3 separate regions of the Homo sapiens genome follow, and regions 1 and 2 are each linked to region 3. Evidence: promoter capture Hi-C in human tissues and cell types (Jung and others, 2019). All regions are on one chromosome and are shown on one strand. The core of a region is centred on a gene start or on the middle of the fragment in contact, and the rest is flanking DNA. Distances in the headings are between cores, read along the strand shown.

Region 1 (2,897 bases), core at 216-2,715, 700 kb after region 3:
GAACTGTCAGGAGCAAGAACAGCAGCTGTGGCCCCACGAGGCAGGACTTCAATAACTCGCGGCTTGTCAATGATCCGGGCCGTTCGGTTTCCCTTTTCCACAATGCCAACGATCCACGCTTGGTGACCCTCTCCGTACTTGGAGGATTTGATTTCAGAACAAAAGCGAGCCGCCTGTTCTCTTGGCAGACAAATCAGTAATCCCCCAGAGGTTTCAGCTGAGGTTCCTTGAAGAAGCCCAAACCGTCCACTGGCCTTGCTGACGGCAGCCATCTTGGCAATTATTGGCAGATTATGAATAACAAAGGACACTTCATTTCTTTGTTGTTTTGCAAGGTTCTGGGAGTGTCCTAGAATGCCAAAGCCTGTGATATCTGTGGCCGCATGGGCATTAAATGTGTGCATTAAACCTGCAGCAGTTCTGTTGAGGGTAGCCATATTGAACATGGCTTCCTGATAGGCCAGCTCCACCTCTTCTCTGGAGACCACCATCTTTACTTTATTCCATCTTTCAGGATTATCCAGCCATTGGTGGGCATTGACAGCAACCTGGGTTCCTAACGGTTTGGTTAACACCAGCACGTCCCCAACGACGGCGCTGTCCGGCATTATGAACTCATTTGGTTGGCATACTACAGTGGCAACTCCACCGATTATAATCCAAGGGTTGACCACCGTTTGCCCACCGGTCACTGCCGTCCCTCCTTCCTCAGCCGCATCCCGAAAGCCTTTGACCATGAGTGGCGTTACCTTTTCGCGTTCCTCCTCACTCATACTCTGGCTGACGCTGAGTAACATCAACATGTTGTCACACTCAGTAATCCCCATGGCGTAGAGGTCACTCAGCACGTTGGCACAAGCTATGCGCCCCATCATGTAGGGATCTTCTACCAAGGGGTAAAAGAAGTCCGTGGTCTGCACCAGTGACAGGCCCCCGTGCCTCAGGGGGATGACGCAGGAGTCCATCCCGATGCCCAGGGCTGGAAAGGTGGGGCTGGGGCCCGCTCCTGCCGGCAGGCCGGCTTCCTGGGACGCCTCTTCCTGGCCACCCACCAGGCCCCGGCCCAGCGGGGGCCGCACGTCCGGCCGCGTCAGTCCCGCCAGGAGTTTGAGCAGCGCCTCCTGCGGGACCTTGCAGCCTCAGCCCTTCATGCCGGAGAAGCCCGTCAGCCGCCAGCTCGGGCTGAGGCCCAACGCCTGGGGCTCGAAGGGCCGGTAGTTCGAGAAGCTCCGGCCCAGAGTCAAGCCCGCCGGGCCCGAGGAGCCTTCCGCCGCTGCCATCGCCTCTCCGCAGGCGCCCGTCGCCGAGGCTTCCGCCATGGCGCCTGCCCGGCAGGGAAGCGAGAGGAGAAGAGGGCCCTTTTATTTTCCACTCAGATTAATATGAAGCAAAAGTCAAATATTACCTGCAGGGATTCTCCCTAGCGCTACTCAAGCCGTCAGACCCACGGCATGCACAATCTTCCTGATAGAGGAGCCGCCGGACTCCCTTATTTATAGCCCTGGCGATTGACAGCCGCAACATCCAATGACGACTCCGCCACCGAGAGGCGGGCTTCCTAGACTCTAAAAGGTGCAACAACCTCCGGCTTGCAAAACCGCTTGCAACGGGATTGCAGAACGTCACGTGCTTTCCTTCGCTCTCTTAGTAATTTAAATGGTTTCTTGGCAGTGGCTGACGGAACTCTGCTCCCTTCCAGTCACTTTTCCAAGTCCAGCAAATTGTAGACGAGGGAAGATTGGTCACTCGGCAAACCTCATGATCGGCAGGATTGTCCCAAAGGTCACTTGACAGCGCACATGATCGATCCAGGATGGCAAAATAGCCCAAGGGAAAAAACAGAAAGCATGAGAAATTAGAAATTAAACTACTACCATTAAGTTAGCAAACTGCAGGCAGCATCAATATAATGAAATGTTAACAGGAACTTCAAGAACTCTAGGACTCAGGAGGTCGAGGCTGCAGTGAGCTGCGTCCGCGCCACTGCACTCTAGTCTGGGCGACAGAGCAAGAACCTGTCTCTAAAACAAACAACAATAACAAACAAACAAACACCCCCCCCACACACACAGACACACACAAAAAGAGAGATTTAGGACTGGAAGTCCAGACACCTGCATGGATTCTAATGGTGTTTCCCACCAGCTTTGTGTGGAGTCACTCTCCGCGTCGGTTGACTCATCCATCTGTGGAACAGAGTGGGTTACATAGGACTGGTCTATTCTAAAATTCCTATATCTCTGTAAATAAATATATATATATATCTTATATAGCCATGAAGGGCAGTTTGCCAATATCTATTAAAAACTCCACCTCCCAGGTTCAAGTGATTCTCCTGCTTCAGCCTCCTGAATAGCTGGGATTACAGGTGTGCGCCACCACACCCGGCTTATTTTTGCGTTTTTAGTACAGACGGGATTTCACCACGTTGGCCAGGCTGGTCTCAAACTCCTGACCTCAAGTGATCTGCTGGCCTCGGCCTCCCAAAGTGCTGGGATTACAGGCATAAGCCACCACACCCAGCCAATAAAAACTTTTTTAAAAGACAAGAAAATGAATAGAAGACTCAGCATAGGGGCTATGTCTAGGGAGGGCTACATAGGGAGCTTCTGGGCTATGTTTAATTCTGTTCATTGGGCTGGTGGTGGGTACGTGGTACATGGTTGTTCTTTAAACTGTACATAGATATTTTCGGGGCCGGGCACAGTGGCTCACACCTGTAATCCCAGTACTTTGGGAGGCCGAGGCGGGTGGATCACGAGGTTGGGAGATCGAGGCCAGCTTGATCTATATGGTGAAACCCCGTTTCTACTAAAAATACAAAAATTAGCCGGGCATGGTGGTGAGCGCCTATAATCCCAGCTACTCGGGAGGCTGAGGCAGGAGAATTGCTTGAA
Region 2 (2,975 bases), core at 210-2,709, 730 kb before region 3:
GCATCCTTCAGAGCTCCTGGTGGCAAGCAACGGAAACCAACTGGAGCTGTTAAATGCTGGAGATTAATGGGAGGGCCAGCCAGGCACAAGGGATCATTGGAGTGGGGAAGCCGTCCTGGAAAGCCAATGGGACGTGGGGGACAGTTGTGCATAGCAGGGACTACTGTTGCCCTGCCCAGACACCCCAGCTCTGTGTTGGGCCACTGGCTTGGCCCTAACTGTCCCTTCCTCTCTGTTCACCAGCACCTGTGATTGGCCTAGTCCAGGCTCCACATCCAGGTCCAGGCTGCCTGGAGGTTGGGGAGAGAGTTCTCCCCATAAATGAAGTGGGACACAGGTCCCTCCAGAAACCACAATTGAGGCTTCTCCAATGTAATTAAGGACCATGGTGACGGAACTCTTCTCCCAGGCCTCCTCGCCCTACCTCTGGGCCTGACTCCTGTTCCACCAGCCTTGCGTGGAGCTCCTCCCACCCACCTGCTGCGTCGGGGTGAAGGGAGTCAGATCAAATCCATGGCTTGTAAACCACTCCAAGAAGCTGATTCAGGGATTCAGCAGACATTGAATGTATCGAGGCAAATATGAGGCTTTCAGGGGTTTCTGTTGACCTAGCCTTTCTCTAGGACAAATCAGTTTGTTGTTATTATTTATTAATTGATCGACTTTTTTTAGAGATGGGGTCTTGCTCTGTTGCCCAGGCTGGAGTGCAGTGGTGTGAATGATGGCTCACTGCAGCCTCAACCTCTTGGGCTCAAGTGATCCTCCTGCCTTGGCATCCCAAAGTGCTGGATTACAGGTGTGAGCCACCACGTCTGGCCATAATTTATTATTTTTTCCATAGAAAATAATGATCCATTTGAATTTGCAAAACAAGTCTACGCTGGTAAAGGTGGCCTTTTTCCCATTCCATGTATATTGGGGCTGCTGGCAGTATTTCAACCACCCACCTCCCCCACTTGCTCCCTGAGTCAGTCATGTGGGCCTTTTTGCTTCCTCGACACCCCAAAACCACCAGGCTCTTTTCTTCCTCTGGGTTTTTGCACTTGCTGTTCCCTCTGCCTGGAACTCTGCCCCCATGGCCTCACGTGGCCTCCTCCTTCCATCATGTGGATCTGGCTGAAGTTTCCTCTGCTAGGAGGAGCCTTCACCCTCCACCCCATGTAACTGTGTGTGTTCCCATCTCAGTCCCCCTGCATCTCATTACCCCATTGAATTGACTTCCTAATGCTGATCTCTTTTTTTTTTGAGATGGAGTCTGTCTGGCCCTGTTGCCCAGGCTGGAGTGCAATGGCATGATATTGGCTCACTGCAACCTCCACCTCCTGGGTTCAAGCAATCAATCCTTCTGCCCTAGCCTCCCAAGTAGCTGGGACTACAGGCATGTGCCACCATGCCTGGCTAATTTTTGTATTTTTAGTAGAGATGGGGTTTCACCATGTTGGCCAGGCTGGTCTTGAACTCCTGTCCTCATGTGATGCACCAGCCTTGGCCTCCCAAAGTGCTGGGATTACAGGCTTGAACCACCGCACCCGGCTATAACGCTGATCTCTTTATACATTTGGTGTTTTTGTCTATCCTCCTTGGGACTGTGAGCTCCCTGTTCATCTCTGTCACTCCAGGGTCCAGCAAAGAGCTTGGCACAGAGTAGCTGTTCGACAATCATGTTGAGCAAATGAATTAAAAAAGAGCTTAAGACAAACACGTGAGGCCCTTAACAACAAGTTCCTTCCAGCCCTAACACGTGGTACGTTCCCAGCCTTAGAGAAAGCACTGTCTAAAGGAGAGACTGCAAACTGATTGCTCACCAACGTGTTTAATTTTTTTAGATGCTATGGTTAAAAAAAACCCCACCACATAAGATAACATTTACCATCTTAACCATTTGTAAGTGTACAGTTCAGTAGTGTTAAGTATATTCACATCGTTGTGCAACAGATCTCTAGAACTTTTTCATCTTGCAAAAGTGTTTTTCATCTTTGCAAAACTAAAACTCCCTACCCATTAAACAACAACTCCTGGCAACTGCCAGTCTACTTTCTGTTTCTTGTTTTTGCATGTGTGTGACTGGCTTATTTCATTAGCATAATGTCCTCCAGATTCATCCATGCCATAGCGTGCGATAGGATTTCCTTCCTTTTGAAGGTTGAATAATATTCCATTGCACGGTGCTACAATTAAAAGTCCCCTCCAAAACTCATGTTTAATTGCCATCGTGATGGTATTAAGAGGTGGAATGACTGGGCGCAGTGGCTCATGCCTGTAATCCCAACATTTGGGAGGCCAAGATGGGAGGATGGCTTGGGCCCAGAAATTTGAGACCAGCTTGAGTAACATAGAGAGACCCTGTCTCTACAAAAAATTAAAAAATTAGTCAGGTGTGGTGGCACATGCCTATGGTCCCAGCTACTTGGGAGGCTGAGGTGGGAGGATGGCTTGAGCCCAGGAGGTCAAGACTGCAGTGAGCTGACATTGAGCCACTGCCCTCCAGCCAGGGCCACAGAGCAAGACACTGTCTAAAAAAAAAAAAAAAAAAAAAAAATAGATCATGTTACCAAAGTCCCAGTTTCTTGGTGCTATGAACAAAGAATCAGAGGAGACACACAGAGCAAGAAGCCAAAGTTTACTAAGCACAGTAACACACTCTCAGAGAGGGGAGAGCAGACTGACCTCTGCAAAATGAGATCAGCACCAGTTTGGTGTATTTTGAGTCTTTCAATATGTTTTCTTTCCTGAGTTGCATAATCTTTAGCAAGTAGATGACTTTTGCCTTTTGATTGATGGGTGGGGTTGTTTAATTTATTTCTCAACCTCTGTGAGCTTGTGTGTTGCCTCCATCCCATAATTTTAAGTACATGCACGATATACAGTCCACATGTGTGAGCTTTAATGACCTGATTATCATATGGGGTCCGTGGTTTTTTTTTTTTTTTCTGAAACAGAATCTCGCTCTGTCACCCAGGCAGGAGTGCAGTGGC
Region 3 (2,916 bases), core at 141-2,640:
CCAAAGTGCCCACCTGGGTGGGAGGCTCAGGGGCCCGATCTGTCAGCAGGGGGACCGCAGAGCCATACCAGTCCTCAGAGCGCTCTCGGGCGGTGCCCATGGGCTCAATCCACAGCTCTCCTCCTGGGCGCCACACCAGGGTGGGTGCACGGTGGCTGGGGTCTGGGCGGAGAGCACGGCGGAACAGGCGTTCAGCCAACACAGCGGTGGTGAGGATGAAGAGCGCAGCCAGGGTGGCCAGGACCAGCATGATGGGGATGCAGGGCCCACAGGGCAGTGAGGGCCATGGGGCTGCTTCCCATGCGGGGGGCCCCTCCACGCGCCCAGAGGGCGGCTCTGGAGTCAACGGCATCTGAGAGACACAGGGGTGAGAAGAGGAAGTAAATGAGGCAGAGGGGGCACAACCAAGATGAGAGAGAGGCAGCAGGTGTCCAGGAAAGCCTGGGAGAAGGGCTGGGCATGGGGGCTCATGCCTGGAATCCCAGCACTTTGAGAGGTCGAGGCGGGAGGATCACTTGAGCCCAGGAGTTCAAGACCAGCCTGGACACACAGTGAAACCTCATCTCTAAAAATAATTTAAAAACTAGCTGGGTGTGGTGGCTCACACCTGTAGTCCCAGCTACACAGGAAGCTGAGGTGGGAGGATTACTTGAGCCCAGGAGTTTGAAGCTGCAGTGACCCCAGATTGCACCACTGTCCTCCAGCCTGGGCAATAGAGCAAGACCCTTTCTCAAAAATGAAAAAGAACATTCTGGAGAGACAGAGAAGCAAGAGGGACCAGAAAGGGTAAGCGTGAGCCAGGTGGGGTGGGAGGACAGGCAGCCTACCTCGGGGCACAGCCAGGCCCTCCTGCCTGGCTCTCCAGGCCTTTCCAGAATCCCCATTTCCCTCCCAGACCCCAGGGTGCCTCAGACAAGAAAGGTCTCAAGGGCTTCTTTCCTCCCCACTCGGCCCCCTCAAGTCTTGCTCAGACCTAGAGAGGAAGTGGTGGGTGAAGAAATGAGAACCTCCCCTCCCACTGGCTCCCCTGCGTGTGTCTCCCCCACCGCCTGCCGCCAGCACCTCCGCTGGCCCCTTGAGGCTCCTTCGCCCCTCACCATTCTCCTCGGACTTGATCTTGCTCTCATAGGCTCCACGGAATCTGCTGCCGGGCCGGGCCGGGCCAGGCCTCCGGAGGCGCCTCTGCACCCCTCCTGGGCTCCCCAGCTTTGCCCAGGCTCTGGCCTGTCTCTATCTCTCGTTTGTCTCTGCACACCTCTCTGTCCCCCACATCCTCCATCTGCAGGGGGCCTCCTGCACCCCTCAACTCACCTTGGGTCAGTCCCTGGGCTCCTCTCCCTCCTAGAGCCACTCTTCCTGGTGCTGGACTAAGAGGTGCAGGCTTGGAGGGTGCAGGGCGGTCCGCCTCTCAGACGTAGAGGCCCGGCCTCGGATGAAGGCGGAAGGGAGGGCACCGCCTGTTGCTGGGCAACTGTGCCCCAACTCGTCTGCCCCTGGGGAGTGTTTGTTTCCAAAGCAACCCAAGGGGATGTGGTCACTGCGGTGAGGAGGCTTTTCCTGGGGTAAGGTGGGGCTGGAATGGGCAATGGTTCTGTTGAACTTAGTGTCACCCCATAGCCAGGCCCTGAGCCCCAGAACATTCACCGAAAAGCTGAGAAAGAGGACGCCGGGGCCAGGCACAGTGGCTCACCCCTGTAATCCCAGCATTTTGGGAGGTCAAGGTGGGCAAGTCACCTGAGGTCAGGAGTTCGAGACCAGCCTGCCAACATGGCGAAACCCCATCTCTACTGAAAAATACAAAAATTAGCTGGGCATGGTGACGGGCACTTGTAATCTCAGCTGCTCAGGCGGCTGAGGCAGGGAGAATCGCTTGAACCCGGGACTCGGAGGTTGCAGTGAGCTGAGATCGTGCCACCACACTCCAGCCTGGGCAACAGAGTGAGACTCCGTCTTAAAAAAAAAGAAAAGAAAAGAAAAGAAAAAGAAATAGGACACTGGGACTTTAGCCCGTACATTCCCAGAGAACCATGGTGCCTCCCCCGTTCCTCCTGGGAGGATGCCCCACCCCATCCTGCCTTGTCTTATCCACGGTGCCTCCCCAGATCTGCTCCTGCCATGCAGCCCCCACAGGCACCCCCTGCTTGGCCAGCTTGCTTCACACCTTTTTTTTTTTTTTCTGGTAGAGATGGGCTCTTGCTATGTTGCCCAGGCTGGTCTCAAGCTCCTGGCCTCAAGAGATCCTCCTGCCTCAGCCTCCCAAAGTGCTGGGATTACAGGTGTGAGCTACCACACTGGCCCCTGCCTCATACTTTTAATTAACATAAGTCTCTCTCTCTTCAGACCATTTAGCCCCCATTTTGGTTGGAAAATATCAGTGAGGTGAGGCTTGGGTAACAAAAATGTCAAGCCTCTGAGAGGAGTCCAGGGTATAAAAACAGGCGTGGGCCTGTTTCCAAAACCCTGACCATCCTCATGTCTGTCCCTCTTTCCTGCTGCTGAGGGTGGGAGGAGCCTGGAGCAGAGTGTGACAAGATGTCATCAGGCTCTGGAGTCCAGGTGACTTTCTGAGATTCTCTAGTTTGACTCATCCACAGATGACAAAAGTAAGGCTTAAAGAAAAGAGATTTCATGACCAAAGTCGCATGACCAATGTATGTGTGGGTGAGCATGTAGTGGCCAGGGTGGTGGAAGAATAGATAGAAATCCCTGGGCTGGGCGAGGTGGCTCATGCCTGTAATCCCAGCACTTTGGGAGACCGAGGCGGGTGGATCACCTGAGGTCAGGAGTTTGGGAGCAGCCTGGCCAACATGGCAAAACCCCGTCTCTACTAAAAATACAAAAATTAGCCGGGCGTGGTGCCGCACGCCTATGACCCCAACTACTCAGGAGGCTGAGGCAGGAGAATCGCTTGAACCC

What was found. The method cuts DNA at HindIII sites, captures the fragments that hold promoters and counts their contacts. A contact is called where the count stands out against the background at its distance.
Region 1: the fragment with the promoter of SEPHS2 here is called in contact with the fragment with the promoter of C16orf54 in region 3 in 1 of the 25 tissues and cell types used here (spleen).
Region 2: a contact is called between a fragment that was not itself captured here and the fragment with the promoter of C16orf54 in region 3, in 1 of the 25 tissues and cell types used here (IMR-90 fibroblasts).

Annotation. Positions count from the first base shown.
Region 1 is chr16:30,444,409-30,447,305 of GRCh38, forward strand. It overlaps SEPHS2 (selenophosphate synthetase 2), which reads right to left and starts at 1,466. Exons shown (of 1, transcript NM_012248.4): 1 at 1-1,466. The coding sequence starts at 1,319. RefSeq lists an enhancer at 658-1,604 and a silencer at 931-1,050. The HindIII fragment of the contact is 9,223 bases long and covers 1-2,897 here.
Region 2 is chr16:29,011,354-29,014,328 of GRCh38, forward strand. No RefSeq gene overlaps it. Among named protein-coding and RNA genes, the nearest start is that of LAT, 28 kb to the left of the region's middle. The HindIII fragment of the contact is 6,909 bases long and covers 1-2,975 here.
Region 3 is chr16:29,744,600-29,747,515 of GRCh38, forward strand. C16orf54 (chromosome 16 open reading frame 54) reads right to left here and starts at 1,391. Exons shown (of 2, transcript NM_175900.4): 1 at 1,312-1,391; 2 at 1-352. The coding sequence starts at 352. LOC124903673 (a long non-coding RNA gene) reads left to right here and starts at 648. Exons shown (of 2, transcript XR_007065046.1): 1 at 648-786. RefSeq lists enhancers at 1,681-1,730, 2,258-2,327. The HindIII fragment of the contact is 21,250 bases long and covers 1-2,916 here.